Regions from separate parts of the Homo sapiens genome. Here region 2 is linked to region 1. The links are contacts of gene promoters, found by promoter capture Hi-C in human tissues and cell types (Jung and others, 2019). All regions are on one chromosome and are shown on one strand. The core of a region is centred on a gene start or on the middle of the fragment in contact, and the rest is flanking DNA. Distances in the headings are between cores, read along the strand shown. Region 1 holds the start of SRGAP1 (SLIT-ROBO Rho GTPase activating protein 1). Region 2 overlaps C12orf56 (chromosome 12 open reading frame 56).

Region 1 (3,112 bases), core at 96-2,595:
TGTATTCACACTGGATGATACAGGATTTCTCCACCAGGTCCTCTCACAGGACTCCAGGCATTTTTACAACTTGACCACACAAAAGAACACTCAGGCTGCTCCTCCCTTGCTCAAGGGAAGTACAGTAATGCCTCTCTCCGTAGCCCTTTCATAAGACTGTGCATAGATAAACACAGGTGTATACATAGCAATCTTTATGAACTTTGCATTGAATGTGTCAAAGAACAGTGGCGGTCCCAACATTCCATCCATTGTCTCAATCAGGAAAGCTACTCCTGAGACCTCAGGAAAGAGGAGGAAAAAATTCAAGTAACACATATGTTTACGAAACACTTCAGTAACAAAACAAAATACTTGTATTGGAGAGAAAATATATATATTTTTAATCACAAGGCATAGAAAGTAAAAATAATCAGCCTTAATTAGGTTTCCTTCATTAGTTGACAATGTAAATGGACTGAAACTACTACTCAAATATTCAAACCTTCATTTTACATGCAAGTGGCTTCCAGAAAATGATAAAGCAATATTCCCATGTGAGTGTGAAAGATGGCAATGAATTCTGGCCCATTATAAAGGAAGAGTCAGATTCCACTAGTCACTGCTTCGTTTAACTGCCAGGCTTTTAGGGAGCTATTTAATAAAAGGGGTCTCGCCCTAATAAATTGTGAGCGGTGTAAATAGGTGAGTGGTGTAAATATCTGAAATAGCCTGCACTCAATGAGGCTGTAGACCGCTTGGGGTTCACAGACTTTACAAAAATCATTCCGTAAAAAAATTACGTAGTGACAATCCTACCATTTAAAAAGAATAATGATGGTGATAATAATAGCTGGACAGGATCCTCCACTGCTGCCTGCTTCCCACATAAGTTGCCCAGCTGAAGGTGGTTAAGTTAAAGCCAGTTCTCTCCCCATTAGAGATGCGGGCTGGCAGCTGGCGGGGGAAGTCACCCAGTTTCCAGCTCCCCGTGGGTTTGACGGGACTGGGATTGCAACTGGGAACTAACTGGCTTGTAGGAAGCCCAGGTGGCTCAGACAGGGCTCGAGCTGTCCCCTCACCACCTTCCTCCCACGCAGACACCAAGTTAGATACGCAACTCCACGAGCACAATGACAAGAAGGCACACAAAAGGAGCAAGGCAGCCGCTCCCATCCTTACCTTTGACTTGACTTTCATACTCGGCTATGATCTCTTTGTCCTTCTTGAATCGGCTCGGGGTGGACATTATCCAGCTGTTCCGGGTTTGCTTTCAATGGGCAAGTTTTGTTCAGTGGTCACAACCCGTTCTCCTTGGAGAGGCAGAGTTGTACTCCCACACGCAGGCAATCCAGAGGCAGCGCCGACCCGAGGGAAGGGAGGAGGGAGAGGAGAAGTAGGAGGAGGAGGGGAAAAAGAGCGAGTAGAGAGGACTAGATTAGCCCGGGCGCTGGCACCATACTCTCGAAATTGAGCTCCGTCGGTAATCCCAGGGGATCCCCGGGGGAGAGGCCGGACGCGCAGGCAAACTCCAGCCAGCGAGTGGCGGGGGACGTCTCCCTGCCCACCTCGCCGGGAGCCCGGCCACTTCCTCTACGGCCGCTGGGCGGGCGCGGGGCTCGCGCCGGCGCTCCGCACCATTGTTCGAGACCCGCACCGGGCGCCCGGGACAGGGCCAGCGGCGGAGGGCAGGCGCTGGGAACGCGCCCAGCTCGGGCGCCACAACCCTCCCTTCCTGCCTCCAGCTGTCGGCTCCGGCGCTCAAGGGTCCCGCCCGGGCTGGGGATGCTGCTGCCACGGCCGCCGCTCCTCTGCCCGCAGACACTGCCGCTACAGCTCGGCAGGCGAAAGGAATCGCAGTCCTGACGCGAGTCCCCGCTGCTGCTGAGAGGGTGAAGGCGGCGACGCTCAGACGCGCCCTGGGCACAGCCCCGGCGGAGTTTAGGTCTCCAGAGCCGGCGCCGCGAGGGGCCTCTGCCTCCCTGGCCGCGGTGCGCCGAGGCTGCCTTTCTCTGCGTCCCCCTTTCCGCTGCTGCCCCCAGGAGGCCGCTAGTGACAGGCACACTCGCACACGCACGCGGGAGCCGCGCCCCCGGCGGCAGCAAAGTTGAGGGTGCGCACACGGCTCGCGCCTCGCGGGCGCCCGGCTAGCGATCTGCGGGCGGTGGCTCCTCGGGGCTCCGCCAGGCGGGGCCAGGCTCGCGGGAGCGGACCGCGCTCCGGCCTGTGCCCTTCTCCGTCCAAGCTCCCGCCCCTGCTCCGCTAGGAAACGCCTGGCTGGTCCGGGAAGATGGATGCCTCTTGTGGCCAACCGCAGCCCGGCCCCGCGCGCCGAGCCCAGGAGGCCGTGGGCGGCGCCCCCGGCACCTCCCTCCGCCGAGGCCCCGCACCTCCCTCCGCCGAAGCCCCGCTCCACCGCTAGCCGAGGTCGCGGCTCCGGCGGCAGGAAAACCCCTTCCTGACCTGAGGGACCGCCTTCTGGCTCTGGCGGGGGCTCTGGTGGGGCTTTTGCCAGAATCTAATGGGGAAGTCCAGAGTTGGATGTATCCATGACACAAAGGGATGTTACTCCGAGACGCTGGACCCCAATAGAAAAACTGAACACTGAATTGTGAATGACCTGGCTGTTAATCCAAAGAGCGCGAAGCTCTTCAATCGAGGCGGAGAAAAACACCCACCTTGAACACCATATCCTCTATTCCTACAGTAGATAGGGAAGCTAGGATGGTAGGAAAGCGATGGTATGGAAACACGTCACACTTAACGGCGTTGTTAGCTTATTTATTTACTAAACTCCAGATTTTATTCCAATTTTACCAATTTTTTCGACTAGTGTCATTTTTTCTGTTCCAAGATCCAACACAGGACACTACATTGCACTTAGTACTTTTACGGTTGTTTTTGTTTTTGTTTTTTGATTTTGTTTTTTGGGGGTTTTTTTTGAGACGGGGTCTCACTCTCGCCCAGGCTGGAGTGCAGGGGCACGAGCTCCGCTCACTGCAACCTCCGCCTCCCGGGTTCAAGTGATTCTCCTGGCTCAGCCTCCAGAGTAGGTGTGACTACAGGCGCCCGCCACCGTGCCTGGGTAATTTTTGTATCTTTAGTAGAAACAGGGTTTTGCCATGTTGGTCAG
Region 2 (3,107 bases), core at 575-3,074, 530 kb before region 1:
TAATAACAGCCCTTTCCCAAAACAAACATGCTTCTTGCCTAAGAACTAGACTGCCATTGTAGGACTAACAAATTAGCCACAAGATTAGAAATTATGGTTTAGGAGACATGCAGCTGGAGGCTACAAGATTCTGACTCTCCTCAAATTGCTCCAGGAGATAACATCACTACTGTAAAATCTAAGATCAGTGCTTGAGATATTTTGCAGACTCTGCACTTGATGAATTGGCTGGCACCACGCAGACAGGATAAACTGAGTTGTCTGATCTTATTGCCCCCACCCAGGAACTGACTCAGGGTAAAAGAACAGCTTTGGCTCCCTATGATTTCATCTCTGACCCAACCAATCAACACTCCTGACTCACTGCCCCCACCCAAAATTATCCTTAAAAACTCTAATCCCCGAATTCTCAGGGAGACTATTTTGAGTAATAATAAAACTCTAGTCTCCCATACAGCTGGCCCTGCATGAATTACTCTTTCTCTATTGCAATTCCCCTGTCTTGATAAATTGGCCTTGTCTAGGCAGCAGGCAACATGAACCTGTTGGGTGGTTACATTGTGGTTATCTTTGAAACATATATCATAAATTAAATTATAACATGCTTCTGATTCAAAATCTCCATGAGCCTCCAAACTCCTTATTGCTTACAAAAGCCTGCATGATTTAACCCTGCTGTCTCTTTGACTCATCTCCTACCACTCTTCCCCACGTTCTTTATGCCCTTCTATACCTCAGGACCTTTGTACTTGCCTTTCTACCTAGAACACTCGAGATCCTTAGGGGTTGGTTCTTTTGTGTAAGTCATATTTCAGCCCAAACTCAGCATCACTTCCACGAGGATGCCTCTCTGACCACTCAAACTAAAAGTACCATTCCCCCATCACACTTACCCATCTGTTTGTTTCAAAGTAGTTATCACTATTTGCATTTTATAAGATTAACTTGTTTAACAATTTGCTGTTCTCTATCTCCCATGGTAAATGTAAGCTGCTACATGGGAGTAGGACCTTGCCTCTCTTGTTCATCTCTGTGTCACTGTGCCTCACATTCCCTGACACTTAGTAGACGGTCAATAACTATTTGCTGATTAGAAGAATGAATGAGTTAATTAATTAATGCTCAGATCTATCATATAGCTTATCTCTTAGAGAAGGAGTTGATATTTCCTTATATCCAAGTGTTGAGGGATCCCAGAAATTGACAGGTTATCACACTGGCCGTTACTCAGGCAGTGGGTGGCAGAGCCTGGATAAAATCTTATAGGTCTCATGATGCTCATGTTTAGCTCTCTACACGCTTCTTTGTGCATATTGTGAGATGATCCCTGTGTTGTTTAGCTGCATTGTGCGTTTTTTTTTGTTTGTTTTGTTTTTTTTTTTTTTTTTTTTTTTTTTTTTTGCGACGGAGTCTTGCTCTGTCGCCCAGGCTGGAGTGCAGTGGCACGATCTCGGCTCACTGCAAGCTCCGCCTCCCGGGTTCACGCCATTCTCCTGCCTCAGCCTCCGGAGTAGCTGGGACTACAGGCGTCCGTCCGCCATCACGCCCGGAGACTTTTTTTTTTTTTTTTTTTTTTTTGTATTTTTAGTGGAGACGGGGTTTCACCGTGTTAGCCAGGATGGTCTGGATCTCCTGACCTTGTGATCCGCCCACCTCGGCCTCCCAAAGTGTTGGGATTACAGGCGTGAGCCACTGCGCCCGGCTTATATCGTGCGTTTTGACAGGTATTAAGAGTTACGTAAGCTGAGGCCATATTATAGATGCTTCTTTTCTTTTCCAGCTTTCTTCTTTATTTTGACTACTTTATAGCATTTTAAGGCTCTCACTGTGGGAGACAGCAGGAAGTGGTAAACTCACATCAGTCAATTTGTCTTTTTCTAAATTATTTGTTTGAATAGAATAGTATGAAAATTGCATTCAGGCTGGGCGCGGTGGCTCACACCTGTAATCCCAGCACTTTGGGAGGCCGAGGTGGGCGGATCACAAGGTCAGGAGATTGAGACCATCCTGGATAACACCGTGAAATCCCGTCTCTACTAAAAAAATACAAAAAAATAGCCGGGCATGGTGGCGGGCACCTGTGGTCCCAGCTACGCAGGAGGCTGAGGCAGGAGAATGGCGTGAACCCGAGAGGCGGAGCTTGCAGTGAGCAGAGATGCGCCACTGCACTCCAGCCTGGGAGACAGAGCGAGACTCCGTCTCAAAAAAAAAAAAAAATGAAATTGCATTCAAGTCTTAAGAAGCTTCATGAAGGCAGGCATCTTGTCAATTTGATTCACTACTATATTCCCAGTGATTGTAAGGACAGTGTATTGGTCAGATTAAGCTGCACTAACAAATAGCCCCAAAGTCTCAATGCTTCAACACAACAGAGGTTTAGGTCTGATTCAGGATTCAAGCTACTTATTTATCACAGATTAGCAAGGGGTTCTGTTCACTTTTTTTTTTTTTTTTGAGACAGGGTTTCATTCCTGTCACCCAGGCTGGAGTGCAGTGGCATAATCTTGGCTTACTGCAACCTCTGCCTCCTGGGTTCAAGTGATTCTCCTGCCTCAGCCTCCTGAGTAGCTGGGACTACAGGCACGCACCACCACACCCGGCTAATGTTTGTATTTTTAACTGAGACGGGATTTCACTATGGTGGCCAGACTGGTCTCAAACTCCTGGCCTCAAGTGATCCACCTGCCTCAGCCTCCCAAAGTGCTGGGATTACAGGCGTGAGCCACCATGCCCAGCCAGGTTCTGTTCATTTTTAAAAGTCCCAATATATGGGCTGGGTGTGGTGGCCCACGCCTGTAATCACAGCAATTTGGGAGGCCAAGGTGGGCAGATCATTTGAGGCCAGGAGTTTGAGACTAGCCTGGCCAACATGGTGAAACCCTGTCTCTACTAAAAGATACAAAAATTAGCTGGGTGTCTTGGCACATGCCTGTAGTCCCAGTTACTTGGGAGGCTGAGGCATGAGAATCTCTTGAACCTGGGAGGCAGAGGTTGCAGTGAGCTGAGATTGTGCCACTGTACTCCAGCTTGGGAGACAGTAGGACTCCATCTCAAAAAAAAAAAAAGTCCCAAGATATGGGATACTTAGTCACACATCTTAGTATAAG

The links. The method cuts DNA at HindIII sites, captures the fragments that hold promoters and counts their contacts. A contact is called where the count stands out against the background at its distance.
Region 2: a fragment that was not itself captured here is called in contact with the fragment with the promoter of SRGAP1 in region 1 in 1 of the 25 tissues and cell types used here (dorsolateral prefrontal cortex).

The regions. Positions count from the first base shown.
Region 1 is chr12:63,842,933-63,846,044 of GRCh38, reverse strand. SRGAP1 (SLIT-ROBO Rho GTPase activating protein 1) reads right to left here and starts at 1,345. Exons shown (of 22, transcript NM_020762.4): 1 at 1,162-1,345. The coding sequence starts at 1,228. RefSeq lists silencers at 1,503-1,762, 1,873-1,932, 1,993-2,412 and enhancers at 1,339-1,838, 1,839-2,340. The HindIII fragment of the contact is 18,473 bases long and covers 1-3,112 here.
Region 2 is chr12:64,378,399-64,381,505 of GRCh38, reverse strand. All of the region lies in intron 1 of C12orf56 (chromosome 12 open reading frame 56), which reads left to right. Among named protein-coding and RNA genes, the nearest start is that of C12orf56, 11 kb to the left of the region's middle. The HindIII fragment of the contact is 5,937 bases long and covers 1-3,107 here.